3 separate regions of the Homo sapiens genome follow, and regions 1 and 2 are each linked to region 3. The links are contacts of gene promoters, found by promoter capture Hi-C in human tissues and cell types (Jung and others, 2019). All regions are on one chromosome and are shown on one strand. Each heading gives the region's core, a stretch centred on a gene start or on the middle of the fragment in contact. The rest is flanking DNA. Distances are from core to core; before and after follow the strand shown.

What was found. Contacts are between HindIII fragments. The study calls those that stand out against the background at their distance.
Region 1: a fragment that was not itself captured here is called in contact with the fragment with the promoter of HSPA5 in region 3 in 1 of the 25 tissues and cell types used here (lymphoblastoid cells).
Region 2: a contact is called between a fragment that was not itself captured here and the fragment with the promoter of HSPA5 in region 3, in 1 of the 25 tissues and cell types used here (dorsolateral prefrontal cortex).

Annotation. Positions count from the first base shown.
Region 1 is chr9:126,384,908-126,387,607 of GRCh38, forward strand. MVB12B (multivesicular body subunit 12B) reads left to right here. Exons shown (of 10, transcript NM_033446.3): 4 at 1,655-1,751. Among named protein-coding and RNA genes, the nearest start is that of NRON, 24 kb to the right of the region's middle. The HindIII fragment of the contact is 7,787 bases long and covers 1-2,700 here.
Region 2 is chr9:126,732,379-126,735,145 of GRCh38, forward strand. No RefSeq gene overlaps it. Among named protein-coding and RNA genes, the nearest start is that of ZBTB43, 71 kb to the right of the region's middle. The HindIII fragment of the contact is 3,995 bases long and covers 1-2,767 here.
Region 3 is chr9:125,240,059-125,242,758 of GRCh38, forward strand. HSPA5 (heat shock protein family A (Hsp70) member 5) reads right to left here and starts at 1,285. Exons shown (of 8, transcript NM_005347.5): 1 at 947-1,285; 2 at 618-849; 3 at 114-251. The coding sequence starts at 1,068. It overlaps HSPA5-DT (HSPA5 divergent transcript), which reads left to right and starts at 1,598. Exons shown (of 3, transcript NR_186826.1): 1 at 1,598-2,005. RefSeq lists enhancers at 694-773, 915-1,419, 1,312-1,606, 1,420-1,924, 1,574-1,883. The HindIII fragment of the contact is 17,872 bases long and covers 1-2,700 here.

The sequences.
Region 1 (2,700 bases), core at 78-2,577, 1.1 Mb after region 3:
CTTACTGCAGCCTCAACCTCCCAGGCTCCAACAATCCTCCTACTTCAGCTTCCTGAGTAGCTGGGACTACATGCATGAGTGCCACCACACCCAGCCAATTTTTTTAATTTGTAGAGATGGGGTTTCGCCATGTTTCCCAGGCTGGTCTCAAACTCCTGAACTCAAGCTACCCACGCACTTTGGCCTCCCAAAGTGTTGGGATTACAGGCATGAGCAACAGCGCCCGGCCTCCAGTTCGATTTGTGACTCTGAGTGGCCCGGTTGAAAAATGTGCACCCGAAATTAATTTATTCAGCAAGTAGTTACTGAGCACCTGCTGTGTGGCAAAAACCATGCTAGGCTTGTATTTATAGTAGGAACAGAGATAGTTTTGGTCTTCATGGTTCTTAAACTCTAGAAGCAAGACAGATATTAAACAAATAACCCCATAAATTGATAGGAAGGGAAAAAGAGAGTGCCAAGAGGGAACATAACACAGTTTAGATGATAAGAACTCCCTGCTTGGCTTTCAGAGACGTGACACAGTGCAGGTGGAGGTGGGATCTTGGCTCCCATGTGCAGAGATGGAGGTAGCAGCCCTTCTTCTCTAAGCAAGATGGAACAACAGCCTGAGAAGTTGCTGTCCAGGGCAGAGTGATGGCTGACCAACTAGATGCTTGTCCAAGGATGCTGAACAAGTAAACAGAGAGCATGTTCACACTGGGCTTCGGGGATGAGGCACTTCTGCAAAATGGGCACGTGGAGTGCACTGCTAGTATCCTAACAGGAGAGATTTGGGATTTGAGCCCATCATTCTTTCCTTAACTGGCTCTGACGAGAGAGGGGGAACCAAGCTGCAAATTACTCTGAAGATTTTAATGAAATCTCCAAAGTGGCCCCACATATTTAAGTTGTAGGGTAGATATCTTTAGAGCTCATTTCCAGCTTGAAATGTGGGCTGCAAGTGCTGGCGTGTTTGCAAAGAATTCTCTCTCGCAATTACAGAATGGTGTACTGTCTTAGAAAGATATTTGTACACCAGTTACCGAAACTGCGCACTGTGGACCCCATATACTACCACTAAACAGAAACTTTAGGAGGCCCTTGTGCGTGTCATTTTAGAAGATGTGTAATATTGAGGCAGCAGGGCTTTCACTCTGTATTAGTGTATGATTCTTGGGATTTTGCAGAATGTATCTAGCAACTGAAATGTGTGTCAGTATGCAGACTGGTGATCACTTAGGAGAGTGATTGGTTCCCTGTTAGGTTTAGATGCAGCTCTTTCCTACGAGTGCCTCAGGAATTTGCTCTTCCTAAAACCTCCTGGCCTTGAGATCTGATGCTCAGGGCTGAATGGCAGCCTGGTCCTGGGACCTGTGTGCACAGCTGCCCTCTGCTGGGTTATGTCTAAAGCATCTCCTGGGTTGCTCCTGCCTCACCAAGGCCGTGTCTGAGTTGAGTGGCTTTGAGGTTCCGCAGATGAAACTCCTTCCCAGGGGCCACACGAGTCCCTGCATAACCACTGGGGACCATTAAGTGTCACCTACTCTAATTAACCTGCTGTCATAAAGCTGCACGAGTCATTGTGTTAAATATGCATCTGGAAGCCAAAATGGCAAACCCACCACATGCATGTTCAGATTAATAGTCTGTATCTCTTTTCTTTCTTCCCAAGAGTCATCTGGGGAACGTGTTAGTAGATATGAAGCTCATTGACATCAAGGACACACTGCCTGTGGGCTTCATCCCAATTCAGGAGACGGTGGACACACGTGAGTCATCCTTTAGTAGCACTCATCACAATGAGCGTTTTCTTCCTCCAGGTATATTTGTAGGTGTTTTTCTATGTGCATTTTTCTTCAGAAACACTTTTGGAGGCCTTACTACATGCCCATGAACAAACCCTGCTGCTTTTGATGTGTGTCTGGCTGGGTTCTCCAAGGAGTTTGCAGAGTATTCTGGGTAGCAGCATGTAAATGAGCAGAACGTGCCTTTCTTTTAGAATGGTGCTCCCTGCTGAATCGGCTCACTGGGGAATGGAATGGTGAAACTATACAGTTTGTCTTTAGTCCTTCCTCTGGTGTTGCTGAAGCCAAGCTTGGCATAAGACCCAGAAGGAAGCGGAAAGAAAACAATCAAAAGACGCCCAGAGAACACAAGGCCAATAATGTGCCCATTTGGGGCCCGTTGAGCAAACAAGAAAAGTGAGAATCAAAAAGACTGCAAATTAAAGTTCATAGGTTCGAATTGGACTGAATATTCTGACCACTGAGCAGGTCCAAGCAGAAGTGAATCACTGAGGAATCGGCAGCGTCTTCAGGGTGTTGGAGCCCTTGGAGCTTCTTGACCCACACATGGGTTATTAAATGGTGCTGGAAAACCTCTGGTGATTCGGCTTCCTTGTTTTGGTGTAATTTAACTTACCTTGTTTCATTTTTAATCACTGGTCAGCCAACTTTATGGTATTTACAACAGTGAAGCAATGAATACAAAACAAATACAGAGAATCCTTTCATTACGACTCAGGGTTTATTTATTAAATTCTCTGTCTCATTTTCTGTCTCATACTTTATTCTTTCATAATTAGCCCCACTTTGGTCCCACTGTTTTTTGCTGTTTTCTTGCTAGCACTTCATATGATATGAACTAGAGTTTCTATCTTTACGCAGATCCCCTGCTGTTATTTTCATGAAACCAGCAGACCCCGTTGTATAGCATATT
Region 2 (2,767 bases), core at 51-2,550, 1.5 Mb after region 3:
ATAAATTATATATTCTATTTATATTATTTGAATAGTTATCCTTAAATTTTAACATAATTGATAGAACGAAGCCAAGAGATAATAATCAGTATCTCCTTAATAATATGAGAACTGATATTTAATTCATGTGTCAGCCCCATCATCCATATCTTTATTGCCTAGCTTTTAGTTTCACCTTACGTTTTTTTGTTTTTTTTTTAAGACGGTCTCCTGCTCTGCCGCCCAGGCTGGAGTGCAGTGGCGCGATCTCGGCTCACTGCAAGCTCCGCCTCCCAGGTTCACGCCATTCTCCGGCCTCAGCCTCCCGAGTAGCTGGGACTACAGGCGCCCGCCACCTGTATTTGTATTTTTTGTATTTTTAGTAGAGACGGGGTAGTTTCACCTTATTCTTTACTCTCCCATTAGTTAGTTATGTTTTAGAGCTAAGGCTTACCGTATTTTATCAAACCTGAGATTTCAGCAATTGTAAGAAACGCTATTATTTTATGGTCCCCTAAGAAAAAAAGGGGGTGACATCAGCAAAAATGGCAGAGTAAGGTCTTCTGAAAGTTCCTTCCTTCATAAAAGCAATGAAAACACTGGCAACAATTGTCAGAAACAACTCTTACAGAACTCCGGAAATTAATCAAAGGCTTGCAGCAATCTGGGAGTACTAAAAAAAAAAAAAAAAAAAAAAAAAAAAAAAGCCAACAGCTATATCTCAGTAAAAACAGCAAGCTCTGTGGCATTTTAACTTTTCCTATTTCCACATCCCCCGTCCCCAGCTCTCCAGTAGCCTTTTCACTGCAATTACAGTAAAAATCAACAGTCTGGTAACCAGTGGAAGGGACCGAAGGGGTTGGAGCAGTTCAAAGTCCCATTCCCAGAGAATTGTCAGTATTTGACTTGTCTGGTGGTTCCACGGAAGATCCCACTTAGAAAGCTGTCTTTATTCCACCTGATTCAGAGCTCACCCAGTGAAAACAACTTTTCTTCAGGCCCATATGCCCAAAACATTAGAGGCAATTGTTGAACATTGGGTGCCAGAGGCTGCCGTAGCTGTTGGGGCAAGCAAGAAGCTGAGCAAAAAGCTTAAAAGGAAAATCTGGGGCGTGAGATGACAATAGGGGGCCTTTTAAAAGCTCCGACGTATCCCAGGGAATCAAGAAAGCCAGACACATCTGTAGGGCTGTGCACATGCTCTGGAAAGATGTGGGAAGGCCTTAAACTCTCACCTCTGGCTAACCTTGAAGCTCTGCGTCAGCAGGAAGTGAAGGCAAAAGCGGAGTTGTACGCTGCCTGACTGGATGTTGAAGGCATGCCCCAAAACACACATATACACAAATATAGCCCCTCAAAGAGACTTAGGGACTTATTGGTTCTAGGCATTTAAGAAAATGTCGACTGGGCACGGTGCTTACGTCTGTAATCCCAGCAATTTGGGAGGCCGAGGCAGGTGGATCACGCAATCAGGAGATCGAGACCATCCTGGCCAACATGGCGAAACCCCATCTCTACTAAAAATACAAAAGTTACCTGGGCATGCTGGCGCGTGCCTGTAGTCCCAGGTACTTGGGAGGCTGAGGCAGGAGGTTCACTTGAACCCGGGAGGCAGAGGTTACAGTGAACCAAGATCGTGCACTGCACTCCAGTCTGGCGACAGAGCGAGATTCCATCTCAAAAAGAAAAGAAAAGAAAAGAAAAGAAAAGAAAATGTCTGTCCAGCTGTTACCTGGCCCACTAAGGTAACAAATCAGAGATTTCAGTAGCCAACACATGACAAGGAATATGTCACAGTAGCCACACATGACAAAGAATATAGACCTTGCAGAATTTGTTCAGAAAAGTCACTAAACAAGCAACAAAAAGCTACCACAAATACAAACCTTGGGGGGCAGAAAGGAGAGGAGGAATTGGATTTCCAGAGTTGCCACATTCAATTATTTGAAATGGCCAATTTTCAACACAAAATTGAGACATGCCAAAAAAAAAAAAAAGCAAGAAAATATGGCCCACAAACAGCAAAAAAGCAATAAATTGAAACTGTACCTGTGGAAACCCAGACATTGAATTTATGAGGAAAGCAACTTAAATCAGCTATCTTAAGTGTGTTCAAAGAACTAAAAGAAACCAAGTCTAAAAACTAAAGTGAAGTATGAAAATAATGTCTTATTAAGTAGAGAATATCAATATCAATAAAGAGATAGAAATTATAAGAAAGGGCTGTGCAGTATGACTCATGCCTGTAATCCCAGCACTTTGGGAGGCCAAGGCAGGAGTATCACTTGAGGTCAGGAGGTTGAGACCAGCCTTGCCAACATGGTGAAATCCTGTCTCTGCTAAAAATACAAAGATTAGCTGGGCATGGTGGCACACACCTGCAATCCCAGCTACTCGGTATGCTGACACAGGAGAATCACTTGAACCCAGGAGGCAGAGGTTGCAGTGAGCCAAGATCGTGCCACTGCACTCCAGCCTGGGTGACAGAACAAGACTCCTTCTCAAAAAAAGAAAGAAATTATAGGAAAGAACCAAATAGAATAGTCAAAAAGTAAAATAGCAGAAGTAAAAAATTTACTAGAGGGACTTAATGCAGATTTGAACAAGTGGAAGAAAGAATCAATACACTTGAAGATAGGTCAACTGAGATTCTCTAGTATGAGAAACAGAATAAAGTGAAGAAAATAAATGAAGAAAAATGGACAAAGCCGCAGAGACCTCCAGGACATTATCAAGCAAACCAACATATGTAAAATGGGAGTTCTAGGAGAGGAGTAAGAAAGGGGCA
Region 3 (2,700 bases), core at 35-2,534:
AATACCATTCTGATTAAAATTTTTGAAACCCTTCACGAAGGCTTCTATACATAACAGCCAACCGAGAATACTAATGATCAAAAAATACTTAACATTGTTCTAGAAATATTTACCTTCTTTCCCAAATAAGCCTCAGCGGTTTCTTTCATTTTAGTGAGAACCATGGCAGAAATTTCTTCAGGAGCAAATGTCTTTGTTTGCCCACCTCCAATATCAACTTGAATGTATGGTTTAGTTTTCTTTTCAACCACCTATTTTAAAGAATTATTGTTTTCAGACACAGATACAATGACATCTCAAAGTTTAAAAGACCCACTACCATCCCCACAATTTGGTTTATTTTGGTCCCTTGGGGCTGCAAATTGACTAGAAATACTTCAGGGAGTATAGGTGTCTTACAAAGTTCAGTTTTAATCGGTCTTTTATTCCTAAACTATCGTAGACAGTACGACAGCAACTGTCTTAAGTTTTGTAACATACTAATAGTATTAAAGTTATTACATACATCATGTCTATAACCTTCAACTGTTGTCTCAACACTTTTCCAGAGACTTATAACTCTAAATACTCCCACCACCCACCCGTTCTCTAACTGGATGAGAAAAACCCGGTCGAACCTTGAACGGCAAGAACTTGATGTCCTGCTGCACAGACGGGTCATTCCACGTGCGGCCGATGAGCCGCTTGGCGTCAAAGACCGTGTTCTCGGGGTTGGAGGTGAGCTGGTTCTTGGCGGCATCGCCAATCAGACGTTCCCCTTCAGGAGTGAAGGCGACATAGGACGGCGTGATGCGGTTGCCCTGATCGTTGGCGATGATCTCCACGCGGCCGTTCTTGAACACGCCGACGCTGGCAGAAAAACCCGACAGAGGGACATCAGCACCGCACTTCTCACGCCAGGCCAGGCGGCCACGCCCCGTCCCCCTGCATCCGCAACCCCACTTACCAGGAGTAGGTGGTCCCCAGGTCGATGCCGACCACCGTGCCCACGTCCTCCTTCTTGTCCTCCTCCTCGGCCCGCGCCGCGCTGAGCAGCAGCAGCATCGCGGCCACCAGGGAGAGCTTCATCTTGCCAGCCAGTTGGGCAGCAGCAGGCAGTCCAGCCACAGGCCGTAGCACAGGAGCACAGCGCAATTTCCGACTTGCAGGCGGCAGGGGCCCGGGGTCACAAGGCGCCACGAACCAGGCGAAGGGCAGGTCTAGAAATACAGGCCGCGGCGCTTCCCTCTCACACTCGCGAAACACCCCAATAGGTCAATCTGTCTGTGCTGTCTTGGCCGGCGTCGACCTCACCGTCGCCTACTCGGCTTATATACCCTCCCCCAGCCCCGTCGTGGAGGCCGCCGATTGGTGAAGGCCCTGCTCGTTGGAGGCCGTTCATTGGCCCAGGCCACCAAGCTGGCCGCCGCCGATTCGAAGCGGCCCCCTCCGCAATAAACGTCACTGCTCCGCCCCCCCCAGCTGATTCATTGGCTGCTATTCGTTTCTAACGTTCACCAATGGTAGATAACATCCGCCCCATCCGCTGGTCCCATTGGTTCAGCAGCTGTCTATCTCTCCTGCGACTTCTGACCCCGAGGCATTTCCGCTGGTAACCGCACAAGTCCCGCCTTCACTCCCGGCCCTAGGGGGTCGGAGTAGGTCCAGCAGGAGTGACCCCCCGGGGCTGTGGGATCTGAAACTTTTTCTTCTCTACTGCTTGTTCTCCCTTCCTCCATCCCTCACCCCGAAGCGGGAAGCAGCTTTCTCTTCCCAGCTTCCATCCAGTCTCTGAGTAGACCAGTCGCAGCTTAGATGCTGGGATCGCCTCAGAACACATTTCTTTGCCCTTCACGGCCACTACCGGTATTGGGGTATGCGAGTCTCAGGGCCGTTCGTTGCTCACAGGTCGAGCTGGTCTGGACTCTGTTCGACCACGAATCATGACTCCTTCCTGCCAGTTATGTCCCCTCCGCACCCTTGCCCAGCCATTTTACCAGGCCTCTCCACATTGCGCTGCCCCACGGTAAGTCGCAGGACAAGCCCGGCCAAAGGAATTGCCTCCAGCTCTGAGTCCCCTCCCTACTGTGGCAACCCACTCCAGTGCCAGCCCTCCCACACTGGATGTCTAATTTTTCTAGCTTGCCACCCTTTACTTTCCCCTCCGCTGCCCATCCTTTCCCTCTGGGGCAAAGGTTATCATTTACGGGGCTTTCTCCATCCTTTATTGTTGATACTTTTCTACCTTCATTCCAGGAAAAGGTCTGATGTACACGCAGACAACACATTTGATAGGCGAAAATCGTCTTGATAATGCCTTATTCTTATATAACATCCTGTTGCAAAAAATAATAGAGACCACTATTTGCTGAAAGCCTACCGTGGATTAAGCATTGTTCAGTGTGCTTTTCATGTGTCATTTAGTCTTGACAGTTCAATACTCGGTAGGCATTTCCCGTTTTCCAGATGAGGACATTGAAACTGAAAAAGATTAAATAACTAAACAAGTCACAGAGCTGGTGAGTGATGGAGTTAGGATTGATAACCAGGTGGAGTTCACTCTATTGCCAATACTTTTTTTTTTTTCAAGACGGAGTATCACTCTGTCACGCCCAGGCTGGAGTTCAGTAGTGCAATCTCAGCTCACTGCAACCTCCGCTTCCGGGGTTCAAGCGATTCTCCTGCCTCAGCCTCCTGAGTAGCTGGGATTACAGGCACGCA